7 separate regions of the Homo sapiens genome follow, and all the other regions are linked to region 2. The links are contacts of gene promoters, found by promoter capture Hi-C in blood cells and fetal thymus (Javierre and others, 2016). All regions are on one chromosome and are shown on one strand. Each heading gives the region's core, a stretch centred on a gene start or on the middle of the fragment in contact. The rest is flanking DNA. Distances are from core to core; before and after follow the strand shown. Region 1 holds the start of SOCS6 (suppressor of cytokine signaling 6). Region 2 holds the start of TMX3 (thioredoxin related transmembrane protein 3). Region 3 has its middle 140 kb from the start of MIR5011. Region 4 has its middle 110 kb from the start of MIR5011. Region 5 has its middle 55 kb from the start of LINC01910. Region 6 has its middle 120 kb from the start of MIR5011. Region 7 has its middle 34 kb from the start of LINC01910.

What was found. Contacts are between HindIII fragments. The CHiCAGO score rates a contact against its expected background, and 5 or more counts as called.
Region 1: the fragment with the promoter of SOCS6 here is called in contact with the fragment with the promoter of TMX3 in region 2 in 7 of 17 cell types (M2 macrophages, erythroblasts, M0 macrophages and 4 more); the score reaches 9.0 in M2 macrophages.
Region 3: a contact is called between a fragment that was not itself captured here and the fragment with the promoter of TMX3 in region 2, in 15 of 17 cell types (naive CD4 T cells, total CD8 T cells, total CD4 T cells and 12 more). The highest score is 19.3, in naive CD4 T cells.
Region 4: a contact is called between a fragment that was not itself captured here and the fragment with the promoter of TMX3 in region 2, in 1 of 17 cell types (naive CD4 T cells). The highest score is 6.6, in naive CD4 T cells.
Region 5: a fragment that was not itself captured here is called in contact with the fragment with the promoter of TMX3 in region 2 in 1 of 17 cell types (M0 macrophages); the score reaches 6.6 in M0 macrophages.
Region 6: a contact is called between a fragment that was not itself captured here and the fragment with the promoter of TMX3 in region 2, in 3 of 17 cell types (total CD4 T cells, activated CD4 T cells and total CD8 T cells). The highest score is 13.7, in total CD4 T cells.
Region 7: a contact is called between a fragment that was not itself captured here and the fragment with the promoter of TMX3 in region 2, in 2 of 17 cell types (M0 macrophages and monocytes). The highest score is 9.8, in M0 macrophages.

The regions. Positions count from the first base shown.
Region 1 is chr18:70,287,292-70,290,974 of GRCh38, reverse strand. It overlaps SOCS6 (suppressor of cytokine signaling 6), which reads right to left and starts at 1,930. Exons shown (of 2, transcript NM_004232.4): 1 at 1,885-1,930. RefSeq lists a silencer at 1,195-2,094. The HindIII fragment of the contact is 7,416 bases long and covers 1-2,877 here.
Region 2 is chr18:68,713,027-68,716,792 of GRCh38, reverse strand. TMX3 (thioredoxin related transmembrane protein 3) reads left to right here and starts at 1,685. Exons shown (of 16, transcript NM_019022.5): 1 at 1,685-1,857; 2 at 2,893-2,947. The coding sequence starts at 1,812. It also overlaps a transcript of CCDC102B not described here. RefSeq lists an enhancer at 1,358-1,427 and silencers at 1,628-1,757, 1,938-2,037. The HindIII fragment of the contact is 941 bases long and covers 1,205-2,145 here.
Region 3 is chr18:67,220,192-67,224,296 of GRCh38, reverse strand. No RefSeq gene overlaps it. Among named protein-coding and RNA genes, the nearest start is that of MIR5011, 140 kb to the right of the region's middle. The HindIII fragment of the contact is 1,539 bases long and covers 598-2,136 here.
Region 4 is chr18:67,185,353-67,189,127 of GRCh38, reverse strand. No RefSeq gene overlaps it. Among named protein-coding and RNA genes, the nearest start is that of MIR5011, 110 kb to the right of the region's middle. The HindIII fragment of the contact is 1,993 bases long and covers 1,509-3,501 here.
Region 5 is chr18:70,437,537-70,441,580 of GRCh38, reverse strand. No RefSeq gene overlaps it. Among named protein-coding and RNA genes, the nearest start is that of LINC01910, 55 kb to the right of the region's middle. The HindIII fragment of the contact is 1,039 bases long and covers 1,454-2,492 here.
Region 6 is chr18:67,204,116-67,207,887 of GRCh38, reverse strand. No RefSeq gene overlaps it. Among named protein-coding and RNA genes, the nearest start is that of MIR5011, 120 kb to the right of the region's middle. The HindIII fragment of the contact is 6,959 bases long and covers 1-3,772 here.
Region 7 is chr18:70,416,681-70,420,670 of GRCh38, reverse strand. No RefSeq gene overlaps it. Among named protein-coding and RNA genes, the nearest start is that of LINC01910, 34 kb to the right of the region's middle. The HindIII fragment of the contact is 3,005 bases long and covers 1-2,762 here.

The DNA.
Region 1 (3,683 bases), core at 681-3,180, 1.6 Mb before region 2:
ATGGCTCTCAAATTCCTTCCCTGCCACTCCCTGCGGGGTGGGGGGCCCACCAAGAGAGGGGGTCATGGGATGACCCGAGGGTGTGCGCTTGGGTGGGAGGCCCTGCTGAAGAGAAAGGGGCAAGACTACCAATTTAGAGGGTAATTTAGAAGATAACGATAAAGGTAAGAGAGAAACAGTGTTTCAAAAGAGATGCTGAATGGAGTTCTAAAAAAGTATAGATTCGGGTGAATACCTGGCTGACCCTTACCCAGGCACAAGCGGAAAGCCCTGGCCAAACTCCAGATAGAAGTTCTTCTAGGAATCCTTATCAAATCCACTGTCCACGAACCAGGTTCCTCCAAGGCACCAAGGCAGGCTTAGGGAGGGTGTTTGAACCAAAGGGTTAAGGCCACATATTTAATTTAGAGCTGAATGGATCCTAGACCTTACCATATCCACGCGTGCACAAAACCCACTAGGAGGAGAAATTAGAAAGCCCACGGAAAAGTATTACAGACTTTTTTTCCGGTTTTTGTGAAACCTGGTGAGCAATGCCATTCGTGTTTTTAAGTAAGGCTGTCCACAGCATTAAATATTACAATTAAGATTCGTTCATTCAAGTAAGCTAAATGGATTTAATGTTGTGGTAGTTGGTTAAAAACAAGTCAAGATAAATTGCTACCTTCAGTGGTTGAGAAGATGTCAGATATTTTATCTTGAAGTAGAACGTTTACTTTTGTTTGATTCCAAATGTATCTTTATCCCAAGGAACACAGTAAATTTAAAATGTCTCTGGGAGACGTTCAGTGTGTAATTCACGTTATTTCTGTCATTACTGTGTTCTCTGTCCTCATGCACAGTGCATGCTGCCTTATCCGGGCAGACGTTGCAGAAACATTTGTTGAAATGAATTCAACATTATTTATTTTGCTACCGGAAGACTGAGTCCCGCCACATATTCCCACCTGGCCCTTCATTCCAAACAGTGGGGATGGGAACCCCAATTTCACATTCCAACTGAACGTTAAGTTGGCACACACACTACTGCACATATCCCAAGTTTTGTGCCAGGATCTGCCCCTGAGAAACGTCCATAATTCTGCTCCGTGAGCCACAAGGGTGTACCTGAAGTTGCCAACTCCCGAAGCAAACTGAAAATTCAGGCCCGTGTCGGTCCCAGGAGCGGTTTAAATTCCACAATCGTCCGGTCCCTACACCCGGGTGAGTGCGCAGCCGGCCGGCGGCACCTTCAGCCGCAGAGCAGCCCCGGCCTGCACCTCCACCAGCGCCGGCGCGACCTCGCGGTGGGGCGGGGGCGTCCCCGAGTCCCAGCGCCGCGCCCCAGGCCCGCCCTCGCGCCTGCGGCCTCGCCGCGCCCCGACCCCGAGCCCGAGCCCGAGCCCGCGGAGGTCCGAGGAGGGACCCGGCCGGGGCGCAGAGCCGCGCAGGCCCCGCGCCGCTGCCCAGGCCTCGCGGAGCCCCGGCCTCTCCCCGGCGAGCTGCGGGCAACAAAGGCGGCGGCCCAGGCCGGCGCGCCGCGGCCGAAGAGGCCGAGGGGTCGAGAAGAGCCGTCCGCGGCCGCGCAGGCCTCGGCCCTTCAGGGGCCGCCGCGCCCCGGCCCCGGCTTCCCGGTTTCCGCGTCCCCGCTCCCGGGACTGGCCCCGGCCCCCGTTCCCCGGCCCTGGCCCCCGCCCGCGCACCCGCCGAGACGGCGCAGGGCCTCGCGCTGACCCAGACCCGTCGCTGCAGCCCCGCGCCCGGCGGCCTCCCTGGCCCGGCCCGCGCCGGATCCGCCCCCTGCACTCCGAGGCGAAAACCAGCCGTGTCCCGGACCGCGGGCGACCCGGAGGCGGACGGCGAAGCCCTGCCCCTGCCTCCCGCCCGAGCTCCCCGGACGCTTACCCGGAGGCGGCCCGGCTCCGCTTCCTCGCCCAGCGCCGGCGCGACTGCCGCGCTCGCCTTCTCCTCTCGGCAACTCCTCCTCCCGCCTCCTTCCTCCTCCTCCTCCAGGAGGGGCGCGCGGCCGCGGCGCCTCGGCCCGAGCGGGGAGCGGGTGCGGAGGAGCCGAGCGGGCCGCCCCCCGTCCACTACTCGGGCCCGCGGCGCAGGCGGGGCGTCGGGGCGCGCGGGGCTGAGGCCGGGGGCCGCGCGGGGCGGGGCGGGGGCCGGGCACTAAGTGGGGGTTCCGAGGGGAGGGGCGCCGGGCCGGGGTCGTGGGGCGGACGGAGCGCGGAGCCCTGATCCCTTCCCCCACCCCCGCGCCCCTCCGCTGGTGCCTGCAGGAGGCCGCTCCTCCGGCCCCCAGAGTCCCTGTCCTGGTTTTTCCTTTGGTGCTTTCCCTCTGGCGGGGGTGGCCCCGGCTAACGCGGAAAGGAAAGTCTCCTCGTTCCCCGGCCCCGCGGATTTGGCGGCTGCGGTCCCTGTCCCCCTGTGGCGGGCGGTCGGACCCCCGCACTGCCCAGGTCCGCTGGGCTCGCGCGGGGACCCCGGCCTCGTCCCCGCAGGGAGGGGACCCCAGGACAGACGCGCGCGCACGCTGTGCAGAGCCACAAGTGGGGAAACCCTCCCCACACCTCGACTAAATTGTGAAAAATGCTTTTTAAAAAACCAAACATTCCTTGTTTCAAGCCATCCACTTTTCCATTTAGTCGTTTTCAGGGAGGTTTTGTACAAGGAATAGTTGTTTGTGCCGCCGAATTCCAAGGTAGTGTGGTATACAAGTTGCATGTTGGGATCTTGACTAATTTCTTTGGAAACTGGCTGAACATACTACTAATGTATAGCAGTACCACAAAAACTTGATTTTTGTGCATAAGAATCAATAGGAAAATTTGTATTTCTCTTACGATGAAAAGTGGTTAAAAAAATGAATATCATTAGTATTTCAGTAAAGCTTGGGGGGAGATAAATATTAAAATCTAATGAGAATTATTGTGGACTTTAAAAGTTGTGTTTCTTGAATAGTATGGACCTTTTTAAAAGAAAACCGAAAGGACAGAGAAAAAAGGGCTAGAAAAAAAGTCTAAAAAGCTGTTCAGGTATGAGTTGGTACCCGAATTATATCTCAATAAAGTTGTTAGTTACAAAAAAGTTCAAGTCCAGTAATCTTAATTCCTATGTCCAATATACAATCTGGATTTCCCCAAGAAATCTAGATTCATAACAGAAAAGTTGGATCTTTAGGTGATGCAAAGTTGATGTCATGTATCATACACTATCATTGTCATCTTCAGTTTTTACTTGAATTTATTAATAAAATACTACCATTATTGTTACCGTGATTGAAATGCAACACAATTCTCAAATATCTAATTACAGTGATTGGAGAATGTAGGTTGAAATAGAATTGTCAGAGAAGTTAGTGGGAAACACAACAAACAGTAATTAACGGTGGCTCATGCCTGTAATCCCAGCACTTTGGGAGGCCGAGGCGGGCGGATCACAAGATCAGGAGATCGAGACCTGCCTGGCCAACACAGTGAAACCCCATCTCTACTAAAAATACAAAAAGTAGCTGGGCGTGGTGGCAGCTGCCTGTAATCCCAGCTACTCAGGAGGCTGAGGCAGGAGAATCGTTTGAACCCGGGAGGCGGAGGTTGCAGTAAGCCGAGATCGCACCACTGCACTCCAGCCTGGGTGACAGAGCTAGATGCCGTCTCAAAAAAAAAAAAAAGAAAAGAAGCAAACGTTTCAATCCTACT
Region 2 (3,766 bases), core at 436-2,935:
CTGGCTAATTTTTTAATTTTTTGTACAGATGGGGTCTCACTGTGTTGACCAGGCTGGTCTCAGACGCCTCACCTCAAGCAATCCTCCTGCCTCAGCCTCCCAAAGTGCTGGGATAATAGGCATGAGCCACCCATGCCTGGGACTTGATCAGTATTTAGATTTCATAAAATTTACAGTTGAAAAAGTAGATTCACATACCTCAGTTGTTCCAACCACATTAAAAAAACTTTCCAATAGCTGAATCGAGTGTCAGTTTTTGAGTTTACTGAAATTAAAAAAAATAAATATTCAGTTATTTCATCACACTAGGCACATTTCAAAAGCTCAATAGCCACATGTGGTTAGTGGCTACACTACTGAAAAGCACAGATCTAGGTCAACTGGCTTTTGTTGTTGTCCACATGTGAACTTAAACTGTAACGCAAATATAAGAGGAAATTATTTCACTTTGCATGCTGTGGAAGACAGAAAACTTTGAAATACATGAGAATGAAAAAAAAAAATTGAATATGGGTCATTCAGAGACCTTGCCAAGAAAGTAGAAAAGCTTCTGTATAAGAGTATCGAGGCGATGGTACTATTATAAAGCTGTTCCACCACCACCGGGAGAACATTCCCATCATTTCAACAGTCCCCTTACGTTTTAGTCTACTTTTTTCTTAAAAAAAAAAGAAAAAAAGGAAAAGAGAAAGAAAAAGAAAAATTGAATCTGTAGAGGGCTTGCGCTGGATACCATGCTGCATGCACAAAGGGGGTGACATTTAGGGCTTGCTCTCAATTAGAGTGCAATTTAATCTTCTAGTCACTAGGAATAACGACGTTTTATGACATTTTTGCCTGTTGGAATTTTGAACCTAAGGTGAACCGGCTGACATCATATCCCCCTTCTGTTGTTGTCACAGGTTTTCAAAATTTGGTTTGATCTAAATTCTCTGGTACCTTATGTCCCATAAAAATTTCATCTAGTTCGTAAGTAGTGATTGCTGCAGTAACCGTCTTATAAAAGTATATGGTTTTTACAAATCATTGTCGTATAGAAGAAAAAACAGGTAGCAATATAAATATTTCATACTACTTTATCTAGTTCCAAAATAATCAGAAAAGAGCCATCAAAAAATATCCTACGCTTAACTTCATGTTCTCAAGTTTCAAGAGAAAGTTTTTAAAGAGGCAATCCTTACTTTGGCAAAAATGCATTAAAGCTTGCTGCATTTAAGAGATGTCCCATTATGCAAACAGGTTGAAAGAATATTACAAATACGTTTTGGAAAAATACGGAGTGTCGCGCAGCTCAGCAATCCGCAGTCTTAATGCGCGCCTCTTTCCAGGAATTTGATCCAGCATCAAAACCCACAGGTGCACTCACCACACGGGAGTAACAAGTAAATGATGTGCCAGTATTCAACCTGCAAGTGCGTCGTCAGAGCCTACCTCACCCTCAGCATAACTTTCACCGGTATTCACCTTCCCGGAAACGCGCCCCAGTGAACCAGCACCGTTTTCCCTAGTAAAGCCCTTAAGCAGGGTTCCCACGCTCCTGGGCGTGGAGGGGGGCACCGAGAGCGCAAAGGATTCTTAAGACATGACTGCGCAGGCGCTGTCGCATGCGCCGCACTCCCCTCGCATGCGCCGCACTCCCGCGCATAGCCGGAGACGGAGACTGGCCGGGTAGCCCCGCCCCCGTAGTTAGCGCGGTGCTTCTCTTCCGCTCCGGGTCGGCTCCGTTTCCCTTTCCGGGCGGGCAGGCGGCGGACCCCAGTGTCTTTATCCCTCTTTTGCACAGTCAGCTTCTGCAGCTCTCCCGGGCTAGCATGGCAGCGTGGAAGAGTTGGACGGCCCTGCGGCTCTGCGCCACAGGTAATGGGGGCTCAGCGGTCGGGACGCTGGCGGGCGCGTGGGACCTGGCCCCGCCGTGGGGCCGGGATTGGACCCGGGTCTGGGGCGAGGCCTGCGGGGTTCGTGGAGATGCCCACCCATTCCCGGCAGCGTCCTGCCGCCCCCGCCGCGCCACCCTGCCTGGCCCTGACGGAGCGGACACCTTGGGGTCCTTCCGCCGCCGCTGTGCCGGACCAATGCTGGACGTGGGAAGGGCGCGCTGCCTTGTGTTTGTGTTTTTCTCATTGTGGCAGAAGTTTCAATAAAGCTTACTCCTTTGATGGGCAAGAAGGATGCCGCCGTCCCAGCTTAACGACCAAATCTTGCCTTGGCTTTAGGTTCCGAGTCTTGTCACGTTTAAGGATTTTTACCACCAGTACTCAAGAGAGGGTGGTCGAGGACAGATCAGGGTCAGGCCGCCGGGATTGTGCGGTGTGAAAAGGACCTGAGTGTGTGTCAGCGGTTCTCAGCTGCCTCCCGTCAGCATGGAGTGCCCTCATTCTCACTGGGGTCCGCTCACTTAACAACCTTTTAGAGCCCACTCTGTGTCAGGCACTGCCGTGTAATAAGTATTAGAGTTGCAGCTCGACTTTCTTCCTACGTATCTATTTGAGGGGAAATATTTTGAATGGCATTTGGAGTTTTTACGGAAGAGGTAATTGCTACTAAAGCAAAAGAAATAAAGAAGAATGCTGTCTATTTGTATTCCAAAAAGATAGGATGGTTAAAAAGAGACGTAAGATGAGAGTGAAAATATGGAGGAAAAAGGAACTGTGTGTATTAGATTTATTGGCTTACCTAGAACTTGGCCGGTCACGATATGGTTGCATACAGACTAAATATTTATTAAATGGATGAACTACCTTTGCTTTTGCATCATTTGCACCCTGGGATGCATCAGTGATGAATTTTTTGGTAGGTTGTGAAAGGTCAAAAACACTTCAGAGATGACTAAGCTTATACGGTATGAGCCAAATAATCAGCATTTATTGTGTACATTTTGTCTTTTTTTTTCAGTTGTTGTACTTGATATGGTCGTCTGTAAAGGATTTGTAGAAGATTTAGATGAATCGTGAGTATACATATATATATTTAAAATATTATTTTAACTGTCCAACTCAGATATCTGAATATTTGCATGTGATTCTAATATTTTAGATTGGAACCAATTTTTATATATCACTCATTTTTTTCACTTGTTGTAAGTGAAGGTGAGGGTGTGCCCAGAAGAGTTTTATTAATAGTTATGAGATCAAAAAACTGTGGCAAACTTTTACATATTCTTTTTTTCCTCATTATCTTACCTTGTATTTATGTCTTTTTCCTTTAATTATATTGAATGGGTGTTAGAATTTGGTAACTGTACTGTATTTATCTTCATAGTATGACAGCATTAATCAGCCTTGCTTATAGTAAGTGAGGAGGTTCACTTCAGACCCAAATTCCTGTGTGTGATCTTTCAGGCTTGACCATAGACAATTGCAAGGCTTTTTCTGGCATAGGGGAAGGTGCCCTCCCTACACCAAACTTGGTGTATAACCGGTGCATTACAGTCCCTGGAGGGAGTGGTAGTCAAGGATTCGGCCTCCCAGGCCAGCCACGCTCATTTGCATGTCTACACTCCCAACCCAGTGGTCTCTGTTTAGCAGCCTCCTTATTGGGACCTCACCTGAGGCATTTCCTGAGCACTTCTGCTAAAACATCTTTATTGAGGGTGTCAGCGGAGGCACTTTTCTACTCTAGTCCTTTTCTCTCTCACCCCCCATAAAGAGACAGAAGACTTTTGTTCAGTGCTGTAGGAAATGAGATGAATTCTCCCATCTGTGTCTCATCCACCTGACTCACCTGGTGCTGTTTCATGGGGAGAGATGGAACACTGAGGAGCTGGTGC
Region 3 (4,105 bases), core at 118-2,617, 1.5 Mb after region 2:
TTAACTATACAATATGTAAAGTGAGAATACACTCTAATACTTTAAAATGTAGGTTCATGTAATGTAAAAAAAGAAAAGTACATACTAAATCTGAATCTTATCTTAAAATAATAAAATGATTCAAACAAGTTTAAAGACATAAAACAATAATTTCAAATTTTAATAAAATATATTTGTGATGAACTTCTAAAGAATTTGAGTATTAAAGAAATAAAACTTTAAACAATGTAGATAAATATTTTGGTGGAAAGGTATAATAATACATATATAGTATTTTAGTTTTCTTATGAGTGTTACTTTTAATTTATATCTACGTGTTAGTTTTAAGATGACATTTCACTACATAAAAGCAATTTCAAATCACTATATTACATTTTTTCAAGTAAAAAGATAAGTAGTTTTAAATTCAAATATTCTTCAAATAGTAAACTAATTCAAGCATCATTTTCATGCAACAAAACAGCTTAATGGAACTAATTTTTTAAATGCCCTAAATGGTAATATCTACTTTCCAAGGAAATTAAATTAGTCTTATAAAACAAGTAAGAATTATTTTAGATTTTAATATTTAGCTAATTTTCTTAATTGCTATAAGCTTACTTTAGCTATCCGCACTCATTCTTACTTCAGACAGCCTTAAAGAGTAAAATTCAATATTCAGAGTATATATTTCCAACCTGTTCTCAGTAGAGGGCTATCTTCTCTCAGATTATGTATAACCTTCTGAGTTTTCACATTTAATCCTTAAATAGGAATGAGGCATCTTTTTGCCTTTTATTTTAGTTTAGAAGGATGAGTTAAAACTTTCTAATTTTGATCATGTTGGGCAGGTCTTGACCTTCTGCTGGTCCAAGAGGTTGATTTTTACTGAAAGAAAATAAGAAATACAAGGCACTTTTTAACAGGAGGTACTATTTCTCTCTCGTCTTTAATTAAATAAAAAGTCTAGTAGTTATTGATTCTGTGGTTTCCAGCCTTAAACAACTGCACTCAGAATGGCCAAAGATAGCCATTGCTGCAGTTTCTACTAATACACTTGAATAGCATCACAAAAGCAATTAGAGATATGTTGAGCAGTTTGCAGTTCACTTTATGTCTGTATTCTGAGATGTTTGGAAGCTAATAAGCAAGAAAAATAGTATCAGCTCTTTGTTTTGCTACTACTCTCACTAAGCTCATTTGTCAGACAAGATCTGAGAACATGTCAGCAATATGTCTTATTAGTAAAACAAACTGAAAACCTGCCTGGCTTAGGTCATGCTGCAATACAAATGATACCACTTATGACAAGAAATATGAGGAAATAAATTACTTTTCAGTTAAGGACCACAACAGAGAAAATACTGACCCCATGTTAGCATGATAAAACTTCTACCACTGGAACTAAAACAGATTGTCAGGCTTAATGAACATTCAACTGATTATTTGAATGAAACTCTTTGCCAAAGAACATTTTAGTACTTGAATATTATTTTGTAAAACTATATTAAATATGGAGGTTTAATATTTTATTAGCCATCATTAAAAAGAACACTTCTGAAAAGGAAGGGGAATTTGAAGTTATTTAGTATTTTAAAATAAGATTGAATAAATACATGTATACACTTTTTTTTTTTTTTTTTTTTTGAGACCGTGTCTCACTCTCTTGCCCAGGCTGGAGTGCAGTGGCACAATCTCAGCTCCCTGCAGCCTCCACCTCCTGGGTTCAAGCAGTTCTCATGCCTCAGACTCCCAAGTAACTGGGACTACAGATGCATGCCACCATGTCACCATGTCCAGCTAATTTTTTTTTTATATATATTTTTTAGTAGAATTGAGGTTTCACCATGTTGGCCAGGCTGATCTTGAACTCCTGCGCTTAGGTGATCTGCCTGCCTCGGCCTCCCAAAGTGCTGTGATTACAGGTGTGAGCCACTGTGCCCGGCCCATACATATAAGTTATTCATGTAATCTCAATCGAAACATTCATATTTGCTCTGGAATTAAGAGAAATTATAAATTGGTCTATACATTGATGAATGAAAAAGATCTACCAGTCTATTGTAGCTTGTTATAGTAGCCTGAATGAATGAAAACCGTTTCTCCCATTGGAAAACATATACTTGATGCTGTTGATAAATCCTATCTCCCTAAGCTTCTAACCACTTCACCAGTGTGTTTAGAAACAGAAGATTAAAATACAATCTTTAATACCAAATGATATATCTTACCTAATTTGTACTTCAGTAACAAATTTACTCTAAATTAAAATTTTTACAGGATTTAAAAATACTAAATAAATTTGTGGAAATAGAGAATCGTGCTAAATTTAGTTCTTATATATTGATGCATAAAAAATTAATAGATAAATACACATATAGTTTGATACCATATATGCTTTAAAACTACTAAGCAATACCAGATAAATTTAACATTTACATAGCACAAATATAGCTAATATTCATCAGACAATATGTGTCTCGTGTTTTTCTTTGGGGTTAAACATATATTAAGCCATTTAACTTAAGAGGTAGTCTTTATCTTCATTTTCAGATGGTACAATTATGAATGTAGAAGTAATTTTCCCTAAATTGCATAGGTCTGGCTCTTGGGTTGATGTTCTTTACATCTCATGTGTTTCTTTGGGGTTAAACAGCCATTTAACATGAGGTAGTCTTTATCTTCATTTTCAGATGGTAAAATTTTCTCCAAATTACACAGAGTATGGTTCTTGGGTTGACGTTCTTTAGGCTGAAATATCCAGTCTTAATCATGAATACAATGGAGACCAGGACAGAAGATATTCTGTATCAAACAATGAATGGTCATTGTGGGGCGGTGAAGGGAAGGAGGTTGTGTGATTTCAGGAGAGTGATTCGCCCATGGATAGATAAAGTTTAAAATTGTATCAAAAATCGTCTGAATAATCCCTTTTTCCACCATAATAGAGCAAGGTTCAACTGGCAAATGTACACATATTTTTATAAATAGACACACACACTTCTTGCACAGTATTTTGGCTAATCTAGTTAGAATAACACCATAAATCTTTACAATAGATTCCAGAAAGCTTTTGTGTTATTCTCTGTTACACGACGTTATTGACGGTAGAAGCTTTAAAAAGGAAAGGTTTCTTTAAAGACAGTTTACTCCAGTGTTTCTCAAATATATTTCTGAGAAATTCAGGGAACAAAAAGGGTTGGATGTGAGGTAGGAATGAGGAAAAATAATTTTGTCTGCTGAGCTCCAGAACTGGCTTCGATGAAAACAGATCCACTTTTTATATATAAAAATATATTTTTATAGATATAGACAGTACAAGTGCCGTTTTGCTACCTGGATACATTGTGTAGTGTTGAAGCCTGAGCTTTGAGTGTAACTATCACCTGAATAGTGTACATTGCGCTCACTAAGTAATTTCTCATCCCTGACCCCCATCCCACCATCTCATTCATCTGAGTCTCTGATGTCTGTATTTCCACTCTCTAAGTCCGTGTGTGCACATTATATAGCTCCCAACTATACTTAAGATCATGCAGTATTTGACTTTCTGTTTCTGAGTTATTTCACTGAAGATAATGGCCTCTAGTCCCATCCAGGTTGCTGCAAAAGACAAGATTTCATTCTTTTTATGGCTGAGAAGCATTCCATTGTACATAAACAACAATGGATACAGATCCACTTTTACATGGTGTGTTAGATTCCTAGGGCTGCCATGAATAGAACCATAAATCGGGTGTTTTAGGATAACCTAAACTGAATCTCTCACAGTTTTGAAGGCTTGGAGTCTGAAATCAAGATGCTGGCAGGGATCATTCCTTCGGAAGGCTGTGAAAGAGAACGTGTTCCTGTCTTCTCTTCGTTCCTGGCTGCTGGTTTCCCAACAATCTCGGGTTTCTTGCAGACGCATGGCTCAATCCCTCCATCCTCACATAGTGGGGTCAAGTCATTAATTAGACCCAGATACTCTCCCTATTTTAAAGTCAGTCGATTTTGGACTTCATGTCTTCCAAATCCCTTCACATCAGTGTATAGATTCGTGTTAGACAGCACGGCGGCTGGGAAGTGTGTGCACACAAGGAGCGGTAAACCTGCAGTGTTCTTTTCGTTTTCTGGACCAGTAGTA
Region 4 (3,775 bases), core at 1,256-3,755, 1.5 Mb after region 2:
AAACACTCTGGATAGGCTGGCAAAGCCCTGCACACAAACCCTACCAGTCATGGTGTACCTTTTCCTGCACATAAACGTGCCAATATCTGCAAATGCACACAACCATGTGAAAATATATATTCTCCTATTGAAAAATGACTTCTGGCCTGATACTGATCCCTGGTAGAGACCAAACACTTGGTCACAGGCTGTCAAGTACTATCCCCTCGCAAGTTGCCCATCATGAAAATGCTGTGAACACAGGTAATTGTAACACAAGGCAGGCTATTTTTAAGTTAGTTCTGAAGAAGAGAAGCACAAGCAGGTAGCTTAGAGTGTTATAGTAATTATACCTATTTTATTGAATCCTATCTCTCAACTCACATCTATAGCACCATAAGGGGGTCACTATGACAAGTAGACCCTGGAGGAAGGTATTATTTTTGTGGTTTTTGATGATTCTAGACATAAAAGTGGTATACATGAAACCAGAGAGCTAGATAATTAGAATTTCACCTAGTTTTCACTGTCTGAAAGACAGTGATAAAAATAAATTCTATGCATGTGCAAAACTTGAAACAGTGATGTTGGACTTTTCACTTTACCTGAAAGATGGTATGGAGGAGGTGAATATCAATGTGTATGTCTGTGTGTGTGTGTGTGTGTGTGTGTTCTTTTTTTGAGACAGGGTCTCGCTCTGTTGCCCAGGCTGGAGTGCAATGGCATGATCTTGGCTCACTGCAACCTCTGCCTCCTGGGTTCAAGTGATTCTCCTGCCTCAGCCTCCTGAGTAGCTGGGATTACAGGTGTGTGTCACCACGCCTGGCTAATTTTTGTATTTTTAGTAGAGACAGGGTTTCACCATCTTGGCCAGGCTGGTCTTGAACCCCTGATCTCAGGTGGTCCACCCACCTCACCCTCTCAAAGTGCTGAGATTACAGGCATGAGCCTCTGGATCTGGCCTCAATGTATGGTTTTAAACAGCTTGATTGAGGTGTGATTAACATATATACACGTGTGTATGCATATTTATATGTACATGCACATATATATGTATACATACAAACATGTTTAAATTCATAAGCATGATTAAGAAACTGAACATATCCATCACATCCAAAGGTTTTCATGTGGTCTTTTGTCCATCTCTCCCTAAATTTCCTTCCTAGACATCCACTGATCTGATATTTGTCACTATACAATAGTGACATTTTCAAAAATTTCCCTTTAATCACTGGAAACTAGAATCACACAGTATACCCATTTTTTGTCTGTTTTTATGTGATTCAATAATTCCTGTTTTATGAGTTGTAACCTATTATTTGTGTATACAACAATTTGTTTATTCTCTGAGTGATATATATTGAGTTATGTTTAGATTATGATATTACAAACAAAACTGCTATGAATATTTTTGTAGATAACTTTGTATGGACATATGATTTATTTTCTCTTGGGCAAGTCTCTGAAAGTGGAAAGACTGGGTCATATGGTAAGTATTAATAATTGTTTAACTTTCTTGACAAGCTTCCAAACTCTTTTCTAATGTGATTACACCATTTACATTTGCACCAACAGTGTATGAAATTTATACTTCCACTACATCCTGGCTAGTAATTGGTATGGTCAAACTTTTTAGTCACTCTAATTTTAGCAATTCAATTAGGCATATAGAGGAATCTCAGTGTGGTTTTAATTTGCATTTTTCCAGTGACTAATGACAATGCACATTTTTAAGGTGCTTATTTGCACCAAAACATGTTCTTTGATAAGAGATCTGCTCAAATCTGAGGAGTTCAGCTTAACTCTTGACCAGAACTCTATATATGATTTTGCAAGCCTGACCATAGGCAATTAAAAGACTTTGTCTGACAGGTCTCTGAGAGAAAGCTGACCTCCCAACATCAGTGTCAATGCACAGCCAATGCAGTGCATTATTTCAAGGGAGTTGTCGTCAAGGACTCAGGTTCTAATGGTCAGCCATGCTGTTATGCATCTCTGAGTTCCTAGCCCACATGCTTGCACACAGGATTAAGTTTTCATGACCTTGGCTTTGACAATGAATGCTTTGATATGAAAACTAAGTCATTATAGATAAAAGATACAATAGATAAATTGGATCTCATCAAAATTATGAGCATTGTACATCAAAGGACATTGTCAAGAGGGTAAAAAGTAGCCAACTAATTTGGAGACAATATTTGCAAGTCACCTGTCTGATAAGGTTGAACGCTGCAGAATATACAAAAAAACACTTTCAACTCAGCAACAAGAAAGACAACAAGTAAATTTATAAAATGGTCAAAGGACTTAGAAATTTCTTCGAAACGTGAATGAATGGCCAACAAGTATATGTGAGGATGTTCAACATCGTTAGACAATCAGGAACTGCAAAACAAACCCACTATCTGGTATGACTTGACACTCACCAGGATGGTGATGATAAAACATAGAGATCGTGGAGAAACTTAAACTTTTGTGCATTGCTGTTGGAAATGGAAAATGGTGCAGCCGCTGTGGAAAAGAGTTTGATGGTGCCTCAAATATGCTAAAAATAGCATTTCCAAGGGAAATGCAAATTAAGACAACAGTAAGAAACACCGCACACCTATTAGATAGACAAAAACTTAAACACTAATATTGTCAAATGCTGGTGAAAATGTGGAACAATGCATCATTTGCTTTATTGCTAGTGGGAATAAAAAATGATACAGCCATTTTGGAGGACAACTTGGCAACATACTCTCACCATACAATTTAGCAATTGTGCTCCTTCCAACAAAAAGGGTTTGAAAACTTAAATGCATACAAAAACGTGTACTTGGACGTTTATAGCAGCTTTATTCATAATTGCCAAAAATTGGACGCTACCGTGATGGTCTTTAGTAGGAGAACAGATAAACTGTGGTATATGCAGATGATGAAAAAACATAATTATATATGTAATTACATATATAATATTTATAAAATTTTATAGTATAAAAATAATATATTTAATTATATATTATACACAACTATAATATAATTATATATTGTACATTATAGTTATATTACATATTATATATAATTATATATACTTTTATATATACTAATACATATTATATTATAACTAATATATGTAATATATAATTATATACTATATATTGCAATTATGGTATATAATATAAAGTTAATAAAACTATTACGTTTTACTTGTAATTATATAATATATAGTGAATATCACTATGTAATAATATATATAGTTAATATTACATATTAGTTACATTAGTTAATATTTATATAATTATAATTATACATACTATGATTTATTTATATAGTTGAAAATATATTTGTTTATATAGTTTATATAAGTTGAGTGTTTGAAGTTTATATAAGTTGAATATTTGAATAGTTGAAAGTTTATATAAGTTGAATATATAGTTTATATAACTTGAATATTTTTCAACTATATAAACAAATCAGTACTGATACATAATACAACCTGGATGAACTTTGATAATATTAAGCCAAGTGAAAGAAGCTTTACACCAAAAGTCACATATTATATGATGCCATTTATAAAAAATATACAAAATAGAAAAATCTATGAAGACAAAATGCAGATTAGTTGTTACCAGTGGTTGGGGGGAGGAGAAAATAAATGAGGAGCAACTGCTTAACTGGTATGGTTTTTCTGTTCAGGTAATGAAAATACTTTGGAACTAGATAGAGGTAATGGTGTTCAATTATTTTTAAAGAAAAATACAATTTTCCTAAGACAAAAGCACAAATTTTTTTAACCATTTTAAGAAATGTT
Region 5 (4,044 bases), core at 724-3,223, 1.7 Mb before region 2:
TGTAACAGGAAGAAGGAAGAATACAATATATGGTCGAGTGTTTGACAGACAACATGTCAAACGATTTATATACTTATTTATTTTTTACACAAATATGGTGTCATTTTTAATGACATTTGGCATTATTATCTCTATTTTATAAATGAGGAAATACAGGATCATAAAAATGAAGAAATCTTCATGCAGTGAGACACAGAGCCAGGATCTGAACCAAGGTTGACCTCCAAAGCCCAAGCTTTGTTCCATGAAAACAAGAGGTATAAACAGATAACACAGAGCAAATGTGAGAAGAGAGAAGTGGGGACACAGGAAGGCTTCCCAGGTCTCAAGGACAAAGGTATATTTGAGCACAGACTGAAGAATGGATGAGACTTTGAGGGTAAAGATGAAAGAAACAATCCAAAGGGGAAAGCCAGCGACTTGAAGGAGCTGACTGCAGTGTCCAATGCTTTGACTCAGCAAAACAGCCAAATCAGGTTCCCATGACAGGGCAGAGGATGCACAGCTTCTTGAAAGCTTGAGTGTGCCCAAGGGTCCTTGCAGTAACAGCAGAAAGCTCAGACAGATAATTCCTACCATTAGGCAGGAGACAGCTTCTCCCGGGGACTCGGTGGTTGATAAGCTTTCTTTTCACCAGGGAGCTTTTTCTGATGTCTTTTCTTAGGAGGAAGACTTGCCTATTTAAGATAAAGAGTAGAAGGCAGTACTGGGAGCACTTTTCTAAATTAAATAACTCCTCAGGGTGCCAGTCTGTTAAGTGTGGACAGAAGCAAAGAGGCAGGACTTGCTGGGCTCCTGCCCATTCATGAAGCAAAAATTGCAGAGCTCCCCAGGAAGCCACGCGGTTTTGTGGACGTCTAAATTTCTGACATAAAGAGATGCTATTTGTTTACTTTTTGCATATTCAAAGGAAAGACAGTAATGCATAATAGATTCAGCAGGACATTGCATCCTGTACAAAAATTTTATTGATCATACTATCACTAACTTCTCCTGAAAAATGACTATAGTAGCCTAATTGAATAATTTTCTATTGTAAATATTCAAATTATATTAGGGACTTAGATCAGCATATTTTGAAAGATGCTCCTTGTGAAGTTTGGAAAGGTACACGGAGTTCAGCTTTTTAAAACTACATTTAAGATCCAAGGCTTACTTCTTACCGTGGCTTACTCCTGTAATCCCAGCACTTTGGGAGGCCGAGACGGGAGGATCACTTAAGTCCAGCCTAAGCAACATGGTGAGACCCTGTCTCTACAAAAAATAAAGCATTAGCCAGGTGTAGTGTCATGCACCTGTAATCTCAGCTACTCAGGAGGCTGAGGTAAAAGGATTCCTTCAGCCCAGGAGTCTGAGGCTGCAGTGAGCTATGATCACAACACTGCACTCTGGCCTAGGCAATAGAGTGCAGTTTATCTGAGTTTAACTCAGCTTCAAATATAAAGGAGAAGCTTTGAGCACCCTAAACTGCCATGAGCTTAACCACTTACACACTGCTACCTCTGGCCACTAAGCCAGGAGAGAGAAGCAAGTATCCCTCGTTACATCCCAAGCTCCCTTCAGCTGTGAGACACAGGAGCTTCTGCTTCCCTCCCCACAGGGTAGGCTGTAGTCATTCCCCTCCCTCCAAGTTCATGAACACTGCCTGCCATTTTTTGTAGGTAAACTGCTCATTTATTAATCTTATAAAATCATGAATGAATGAACAACTAGTGAGTATGAAAAAATATGTGTTGTCCTATACAGGAAGCCTGAGATCACCAGCTCAGGTGGAGCCAAGAGGAATTTTGCCAGAAGCCCTATTCACGGTATGTTTTCTATTTGTCTCTCCAATATCTTCCTACATCTCTAACCACCACAGTGCAAGGATGGGAAGAGTACAAAGATCCTTCCCATTCAGTCGTCACTACGAAAGAGATTAATTCACATTCCCACTTAATTCAGGGGCAAGAACGCCCCATATGAAGGATACCTAATAACATTTCTACTTAACCTCACTAATGCAATTAAAGTGAGAAAAAGAAATAAGTGGTACAAAAAGTAGAAGATTGGAGATAATATTTCTATAAAATTCCTAATTTGTAGAAAATGTGTCACCATGAAAAATGCAAGCAAAACAATTCAAAGAGTTCAGCAACTACTTTAAACAAATAGTCCAGGTGCGGTGACTCAACCTGTAATCCTGGCACTTTGGGAGGCGAGGCAGGTGGAACACTGGAGCCCAGGAGTTCAAGACCAACCTGGGTAACATAGCGAGACCCCCATCTCTATAAAAAATACAAAAATTAGCTGGGCATGGTCGTACATGCCTGTACTCCTGGCTATTCGGGAGGCTGAGGTGGGAGGATTTTGGGAGCCTGGGAGATCGAGGTTACAGTGAGCCATGATTGCACCACTGCATTTTAGCCTGGGCAACAAAGCAAGACTCTGTCTCAAAAAAGCAAAAATGAAAAATCAATAAATAACAAAATAAATTATTTTATAATTAAGCTTATTTTAAGCTTATTTTTTAAACTTACAATTATTTTATAACTAAGCCTGAACTATAATAGGAAAAAAAGGAGGAAAAAGAAATAACATAAACTATAAGATTCAAATGAATAAATCTCTTTAAAAGTGGACAAGACCTTTATAGAAAAAACTAAAAATATCATTGAAGGACACACAATAAAGGATTGTGAATAGTAGAGATGTAATCCATGTTATTCAATGGTAAGACACATAGATACATTAGAATTTTACTAAAAAATCAGTGAAACTCCAATTTTAAAAATTGTAAGCAAGGTTTTTCTTATAACTGAACATGTCTATTCTTAATATAGAAGAGCAAAGACATTTCTAAAGACAAAACATGGCGGGGAAGGATAAGATCTTGCCTATTAGATAATAAGGATTATTACAAAACCATAGTCAATTAGGAGAGGGAGTTTGTTGCAGTACTAGGCAGTACTAAGTAGATCAGTGTTTCAGAGAGGCTGGAGACATACCAGTCTTTTCAATAAATCTGAGAAAATTGGTCATCCATATGGAAAATATTGTATCCCTCACTTACATCATATAAAGAAATAATTCAAAGCCTACTAAAATGCCAGGCATGAAAATCAAATCCATTAAAACATTTAAAAGAATTATAAGAGCAAGATTTTATGACTATGGTAGAAAATGATTTTTCAAACAAGATTTCTTTAAAACAACAAATGATAAAAAAGGTGTATTTGACAACATAAAAAATTTTTAAAACTTTCATGAAACAAAAGACACCACAAACAAAGTGAAAATAAAAGCACAAACTGGTACAAAAGATTTGCAATACTTAAAGAAAGGCAAGCGTTGGCCAGGTGCGGTGGCTCACGCCTATAATCCCAGCACTTTGGGAGGCTGAGGTAGGGGGCTAATCCAAGGTCAGGAGCTTGAGACAAGCCTGGCCAACATGGTGAAACCCCATCTCTACAAAAAAAAAATATATATATATGTATATATATGCAAGGCCAGGCCTGGTGGTGGGTGCCTGTAATCCCAGCTACTTGGGAGGCTGAGGCAGGAGAATCACTTGAACCTGGGAGGCGGAGGTTGCAGTGAGCCGAGATTGCACCACTACACTCTAACCTGGGCAATAACAGAGTGAGATTCCATCTCAAAAAATATATATATATATGCAATACTTAAAGAGAGTGTCCAGAATCCACAAAGGGTGATACATAAATAAGAAAGAGATAAACTATCCAATATAAAGAGAGATGGGGGTACAAACCCACAGTTCACAGATAGGAAACAGAGTCAAGAAACATTTGACAAGATGCTCAATTTCACTAGTAATATGAAAAATAATAGTTAAATGGAATACTGAAATTAAACCACTTTGTATCCATCAGAGAAGCAAAAAATCCGAACTCTAATAACAATAAGCATTGACAAAGACATGGACAAACTTCATTTATTTCAAGAGGAAAGACCATGGTTACAACCACTCTGGAGAACAATTGGGTAAGATCTCATAAAGTTAAAGGTATACTCAGAAATTCCAAAACACTCAGAAATTCTACC
Region 6 (3,772 bases), core at 110-2,609, 1.5 Mb after region 2:
TAGACCTTCTATTTCTTAATATTTCTCTCCCTCCCTTGTCCCCTCTCTTTTATATACATGAATTTATGTGTGTATACACACACACACACATATATACATTATATCTATTGATATATATAGATAGAATAAGAGAAAGGCAGGAGTGAAAGGAAAGTTCTAACATAATTTTGATCAGCATCTCTAAAGGAAAGGAGAAAGAGTTCAGACGCAACACTTGAACAAATATTGATGGATATTTTTTCCAATCTGATGACAACAAGAATCTCAGAGAATCCCGCTTAGAAAAAGTACAAAGATAATTGAGGCACCTCATTGTGAAACTGTTAAAAACCAATGATAACCTTAAAAGCATTTAAAAAAGACATATTAACTTCAAAGGCAGTAAAACAAGACTGATAGTAGAGTACTCAAAAGAAGACACAGTTACTAAAAGACAGTGAAACAGCTTCCTTAAAGTGCTAACAACAACAAAAAACCTGCAACATAAAATTTTTTACCCACCAAAATTATTTTTCAAGTTAAAAAGTAAAATAAAGAGGCTTTAGACTTCCATTCTTTTCCACCAAATAAAAAAAAATAAAGCAAACAGCCAAACAAGTAAGCCAAAGAGATGAAATAACAAAAACAAGCAAACAAAAAACAAATAATTTGAAAATTTTGAGATAATATAAAGAAAAATATATAAAAATATATAAAAGTATAGATGCATCATAGCTCAAAAGAAAAATGTTACTATTTGCAGAGATACAATTGTGTATGTACAACATATTAAAACCTCTAATTTTTAAAAAATCATAAGCAATTTTATCAAGTTCACTGGATAAAATGATTACATAACTGATTCCTCTATTAGAGCAAATTAGAGCAATTTTAAATTATTTAAAATTTCATCAAAGCATCAAATCTCTAAGAAAACAAAAAATATGCAAGGGCTATCCACTGACAATATAAACCTTTAAATATGAATTAAATTCATATAGGAATACATCATCTTCATGGATTGTAAGATTCAAGTGTTGTAAATTGGGATCATTGTAAATGTATCAATTCTCTCCAAATTGATTTATCCCATAATGCAGTCCCACTTGAAATCCAAACCATTTTTTTGGGGAAAATGTAGAAGCTGGTTCTAAAATACTCATGATAATGCCAAGAAGAGCCAATACAATCTTGATGAATAGGTATAAAGCAGGAGGGCCACTTCTGACTTGGTACCTGGTTCTTTTCCTGTTCTTTTTTTTTTTTATTAAATAATAATTTTAATGCGTTTGTTCCATTTTTCTCATCTAGTACTCTATGAAAGCCAGATGTCATATTTCTGTTTTCTATTTTTAACAACTTCTTCTGTGCTCCAGATTTACTCTGCTTGATATACCCGGGTTAGTTTTCAATTGTGTCTGTTCTGCTCTTCCACTCTGTTTGTTTTTAGCTGTGGTTTCTATACTAGTAATCTTTGATTTTTATAAGAATTTGTTCTATTTGGATGGGTGCAATATTCTGTTAAGTTAAATTGAGTGCAATGACTGTGAAGTTTTATCTTGCTCAGTTTGGTATACGTTGCTCAAGATTAAATGGCTATCGGATGTTTGATTCAAGATTTGAGCCCTAACCTTCTGATTCTAGAGCTTGTGCTTTTAAACACTCAGCCATAGAGAATTCCAAAGTCAGTACTATTTTCTATGGCCAGCAATCTGACTTCCAGCCTTCTGTTCACTTGCATGATATACTTGTCAAATATGCCATCTTGTATTCAGAATATCTTTCCTGATCCTACCAAAAATTATCTCAGGACATAATTATGTATTTTTATTGCTAAGTTGTTAATAAAATACTTCACCCACACAAAAGACTATTGTCTAATTCTATCATTAAAGAATGGTAATTCTTAAAATTAGCCTTAGAAATGACAATATATGGTGTCAATGAGATGCAATAAAAAAAATTCTTCCAAGTTCATAGTCCTGATCTAGTGCTTATATGTCGCATAGTCACAACAGAAATATATAAACAAAAATAAGCCCAGGGAAAAATATTTATGTTAATCAGGATCCAGAGTTTCCATTTGTTAAAGTTACAACTACAGCCAAACATCACAAAATGACAACTCAGGAAACTTTTAGTAGACATAAAATCTTAAATTTTAAAGAAGTAACATTTCATTTTAACAAAGCATTTATATTTCTGATACCTCTATATGAAATATTCTAAATTGCCACATTCTGGACCTAATTATTTACTGTTCCGCAGACAAATGACATTGGTTTGTTGTCACACTTTCCTGGCATAAGGAAGTAGTTCACTGTCTCACTGGAAAACCAAAAATGTTTCTCAGAAGTACAATTAATAACCTGTTATATAAAAAACAACATATTTCAGCACATAAATACAACTGTATTTGTCTTCATCTTCCCAAGTCAGAATTGAAATGAGTTAACAAAATAATTATCTAATTTTCTCATTTTTATCATTTTATATGTGACATAACATTTATGATATTATTTTTCTTCTATTATACAACATAAATTAATTTTTCCTTTTGGATGGTGGGATTATACTTTTCGTTTTAGAAACTGTTCTATGTACCTAAAAATAAAATGGCATGTTTCATATGAAATTTGTTTAAATACTGAACAAATCTGGTAAGATGAAATTATTGTCTTACATCCATTTAAGCAAATTTTTTACCCTCTTATTATATTTTACATCTTATTAAGTAGAATCATCATGTTATGAATAATTTTCTATGACTGATAGTAACAGATAACCTCAAACCATCTAAAAATGAAAAGAAATAGATTAATACTACATCACTTGAAATATTTTAAAGGATAAAATGGAAGGATAAAATTCTACTAAAATATTAATTAGATTGAATATAATTTTTAGATATATTTGAGCTTATTGGATTGTACATTCATGGGATTTTATGGACAAATATGTGACATAATTATAAATGTTGAATTATATTTATCAGATTGATCCTAAGTAAAACGATGAATTTCAAATATAGAATTATATGTTATAAAATTCATAATTATAATTTTTGTTAACCACATTGGCTATAACACAATTATAAGACATACGAAGTGTTAAAGAAGCTATTTAGGATTGAACTTCCTGAACAGTGGGTTCAGTATAAGGTCAAACTGGGTTTGAGTACTTCCTCTGTCACATGGTAATTATGTAAATTTTGGAAAGTTCATAACTAACTGTACCTCAGAACCCCCACTTATAAGATTAAGAGATCAGTAAGGTCATTATGATGGTGAAATGTGATTATGCACACAATGAACTTAGTACTGCATGGCAAAGGGAAATGACTCGAATGCTGGACATTAGTATTATTGCTGTTATTATTTTCTAGAATGTCATTATTTATTTGTTTCATATATAACAATACACTAGAGGACATTAAACAGGTTGGAGTGATAGGATATTAATAAAAAGCGATGTCAAAAAGCAAGAAAGAGGTAAAGGCTAGATATCAATGAGTACAGAATTAGACATGATCCCTGACAGACAAAGAGGGCTGGAAAAAACTCAGAGATGATTCTTTCGCTCATTCATTTGTTCATTCATGCAGTTGTCAATCATCAATCAGTCAGTCAGTTTTTAGTGAGTATCAACAGTGTGTCAGATTCCGATTAGAGGCTGGAACACTCTGGAAGAATCTTTCTGCTAGAATCCAAACTCCAGGACACCAGGAGGTTTTTGTCTATTGAGTTCACTGCTATATCCCCAATGCTTTGAATAGTGACTGGCATGTGGAAAA
Region 7 (3,990 bases), core at 11-2,510, 1.7 Mb before region 2:
CCTGGGTGGCAGAACAAGAATCTGTCTCAGACACACAAAAAAAGCTGATCCCCACTTAAATTTCCTGCTTATAATTCTCCCCACTCACCAAACTTCCTGCATCCTCCTATTTGTCATGTTTTCTGAAACCTCAGGACCAGAAACAGTTTTTTCCTAAACTTCTATACCTAGAAAACTCCTGATTTCCACTAGAATAGAAAGTAATTATTTCAGGCTTTGAAGACTATGCGGTCTGACTCACAACTATTCAATTTTGCTGTTATGCTGTGAAAATAGCCATGAACAATATTTAAATGAATGAGCAGGCCGTGTTGCAATATAACTTTATTTACAAAAACAGGAAGAGGATTGGATTTGGCCCACAGGTCATAGTTTGCTAACCCCTGCTATGGTGCAACATCACTCTCTCCTGGAAGGGAATGATGTTTTTAGTCCCAAGAAATATATGGAATGCAACTGTCTCATGTACTATTGGTTGTTTAATTGAAATTCAAATTTAACTGAGCGTCCTGTGTTCTATCTGGCAATCCTAATAAATGTCCATCAGAACTTCCTGTCTTCATAACAGCAATGCCAAAAATCCTAAGCGCTCAATTTCTGGTAAAACGTGTGTCTCTCGCTTTTCTCCAGCGGACGTTTCCCCCATCCCTTCATCTTCAATTCCCATTCCCCCAGACTCTCTCCCCTCTACAAGTTTGTTAATTGTTTTTAGAGAATGAGAAAGTAATTTTCATTTCTTTAATGAGTGTTTAAAGAATTAAGGAACGTTTGTCATGGCAGATACAGAAAATAACAGTCTCAAGATTCTCTCATTCCCTGGGTTTTATACCGTTGTATTAATCTAAAAGCTACCCATTTCATCATCTCCTTTTAATTCTCCCTGATGATTCAGGAGCTGTACTGCCTGTGGTTGGATTTGCTGCGATAACTTATCTCCATAGGACAGGAATTTATGAACTGGTTGCATTTAGATTGGAGCTGTTTTCAAGAGTCTCCTGAGCTGACCTTTTAGAGTAAACCTCTAATCTCCAATGCAGAATTAAAGACTCTGCTTCTTATGAAAGAAATCACAGGCACCAGCTACTCTTGAAGAATGTTTTCTTGTTGTGGGAGGTGGGGAGTGGGGCAGGAGTTAGCAACTGAGTGGAGAGGAATCTTAGAACCCGCGGGCTCTGCCGGCCGCAGCTGTCTCGGCACCTTTTTTCTCAGTCACTGGGGTCACAGCTCTTTCCTCTGTGTCCTCCTCTTCTTCAGGTAACTCACCCTCTGCCCTCCTAGCTGTTCACACTAACATACACCATTTATATTCTAAGGGAGCATTAGTGTGTGTTTTTAATGATTAACTGCTCTAACACAGGTGCCTTCTGGCCGCTTCCACCCAAAACCTCCTTCAGCTGAGACCCTGCGAAGTCTTTCTGCCCCTCCTATGGTCGGGGTCATAGCAGTGACAATATGGCTCTGGTGTGGGAGGTGGCAGGGGAGACTTAGGGTCAACCCTGCTCTAAATCACTGTCATCTTCAACTGCAGAATATAACTAATACTGAAACCCACAGACCACAGAGAAGAAACACCCACACTTCCAACTCAGATTATAAAGCACAAACCCTTCTGTCTCATCTCCCACGTGCCTCCCGCCTCACCTATCCATAAGCTGCCCTTCATGCTGCTGGAAGAATATTCTTTCTGAAACATCAATGCTCACCTGTCTCTCCTGTGCCCAGGACCAGCCCTGGTATCTAGGGGCTGCAGGGCAGAATCCAGGCTTGCCTTCACAGTCTCCTCCTTTGGGCATCTCTACTATCCCAGCCTCGTTCTTCAGTGCAATCCACAGTCAGCTTCACACGGCTGTGCGATCCTCAAGCGTGAGTGTGTTTTCTGTGCCACTCACTCTTTCATCCATTCAGTCAACAGATATTAACTGAATATCTGACTTAAGCCAGGCGCAGTGAAACACACTGGGGATAAACTGGTGGAATGAACTTACAGTCCATTGACGGATGAAGAGAACTGAACAGGGTCAGACAGAGTGATGAGAGCCCAGGGAGCACATAGGAGGAACAATTCAGAGAGGGAAGGACGTTCTGGATTTTTCTTTGCCACATCAGGCAACTCTGTGTGTGTGTGTGTGTGTGTGTGTGTGTGTGTGTGTGTGTGTGTGTAACTCTATACTTGTAATGTGGAGTCATCCCAGCAAAGATGCCTGACTGAGGTCTCCCTATTTTTATTTGTGTCCTCTTGTGTTCCTTACTTTATCACTGCCATTTTGCCTATTACCATTAAATTGTTTTACAAAGAACAATACACCTATTCTCCAGATTAACCCCCAAAACAAATTTAAATACATTGCACCTAGCCAGCTGCAAAATCCCTATTTCTACTTGGGTCTGGGAATTATAGTATCCACCAATAACAGTACAAACAGATCGCTGACATTTGTACTACAGATGGTAATTTGACACATTTATTGCTCTCAGACCAAAGATATTCCTGGAGGAATTAATTTTAATTTCTTTCTAGCTATTTTTTTATTACCAATAGACAATTACTTAGATAGCATCTTGAGTAAACGCACCCCTTGTATCCTAAGCATCCTTTTTAGCCAACTCAATGGATGAGCAAACACATTGCCTCCTCTGATAAGTGTGTTGCCTTTAGATCCCAGCATCACGATCCATCTCTCAGACCTGCAGGAAATGAGATGCTATCACGTCAAGTATTTGCTTTATTTGTCTGGGGAAAATTAGCTCTTCAATTTCAAGCTTAAGGGTCCTGGGCAGAGTCGTGTTCTAGAAAGATATGTTGCACTGTGTTGCATTGAACCTGAATCCGTAATCTCAGAGGAAGGTGGGGCCAGCAGAGTCTCCAGAACTCAGCTCAGGCAACAGCTCCACGGTAGCAGGACAGCAGGTGTCACCTCTGACATCTCGCGAGCCTCCGCTCCATGGGACTTTCATCGATGAATTGACCAATAACATTTTTTCCAGTAAAATAAAATCATTTTAATGAAATAACAAAATAAAATTGGGGAAGGTTTTTGAGATTATTTTCTTTAACCAGTATTCCAATACTTTCATATACTGTATAATTTTAATGTTCTCTTAATTGTCTTTTTTTAGTAGTATTATTATTTTAGTTTTTTTGTTTTGTTTTGTTTTGTTTGAGATGGAACCTCACTCTGTCGCCCAGGCTAGAGTGCAGTGGCATGATCTCGGCTCACTGCAACCTCCGCCTCGCGGGTTCAAGCGATTCTCCTGCCTTAGCCTCCCAAGTAGCTGGGATTACAGGTGCATGCCACCACACCCAGCTAATTTTTGTATTTTTAGTAGAAACGGGGTTTCACCATGTTGGCCAGGCTGGTCTCGAACTCCTGACCTCAGGTGTTCCACCCACCTCAGGCTCCTGAAGTGCTGGGATTACAGGCATAAACCACTGTGCCCAGCCCAAAGCCACCACGCCTGGCCCTGTTATCTTAATTTTCAAAAATAAAACACTCCCAGAGACTTAAGGATATTTAAAAAGTTTTGAAGATAAATTCTAACTGCGGCTACATCCGGAGGGAGAGATTATGGGATTAGTTCTACTTTTTTATTTTCTATATTTTGTATGTTTGAATTTCTTTCAGAGATAATATACTTTCTCATAGTACACATACATTTTTTGCAACCAGAAAAAGTAATTTTCGCAGGTTGCAAACTTCCAATTCCTGTTCTATGTAAAGCAAGCTCTCAGTGAATGTGCATCACATATATTTTTGCCTACACCGTGATGCCATGCGCTGATAAATGCTTCATAAATATTAGTCGAATCAAATACTCAAGAAGGAAGCAGCATGTGCCTGTCACCAGGAGCATCGTGTGTAGGGTAGGTCTGGCCGTCATTGTCTGATCATCATTGCATAGCTGAACGCAGCTAAAACAAATGAAAGTGAAGAGAGGAGAAACTACAGTATTGGAGTCTCCGAGGGCTGTGCCGAGCCTCCGCCCCTCACA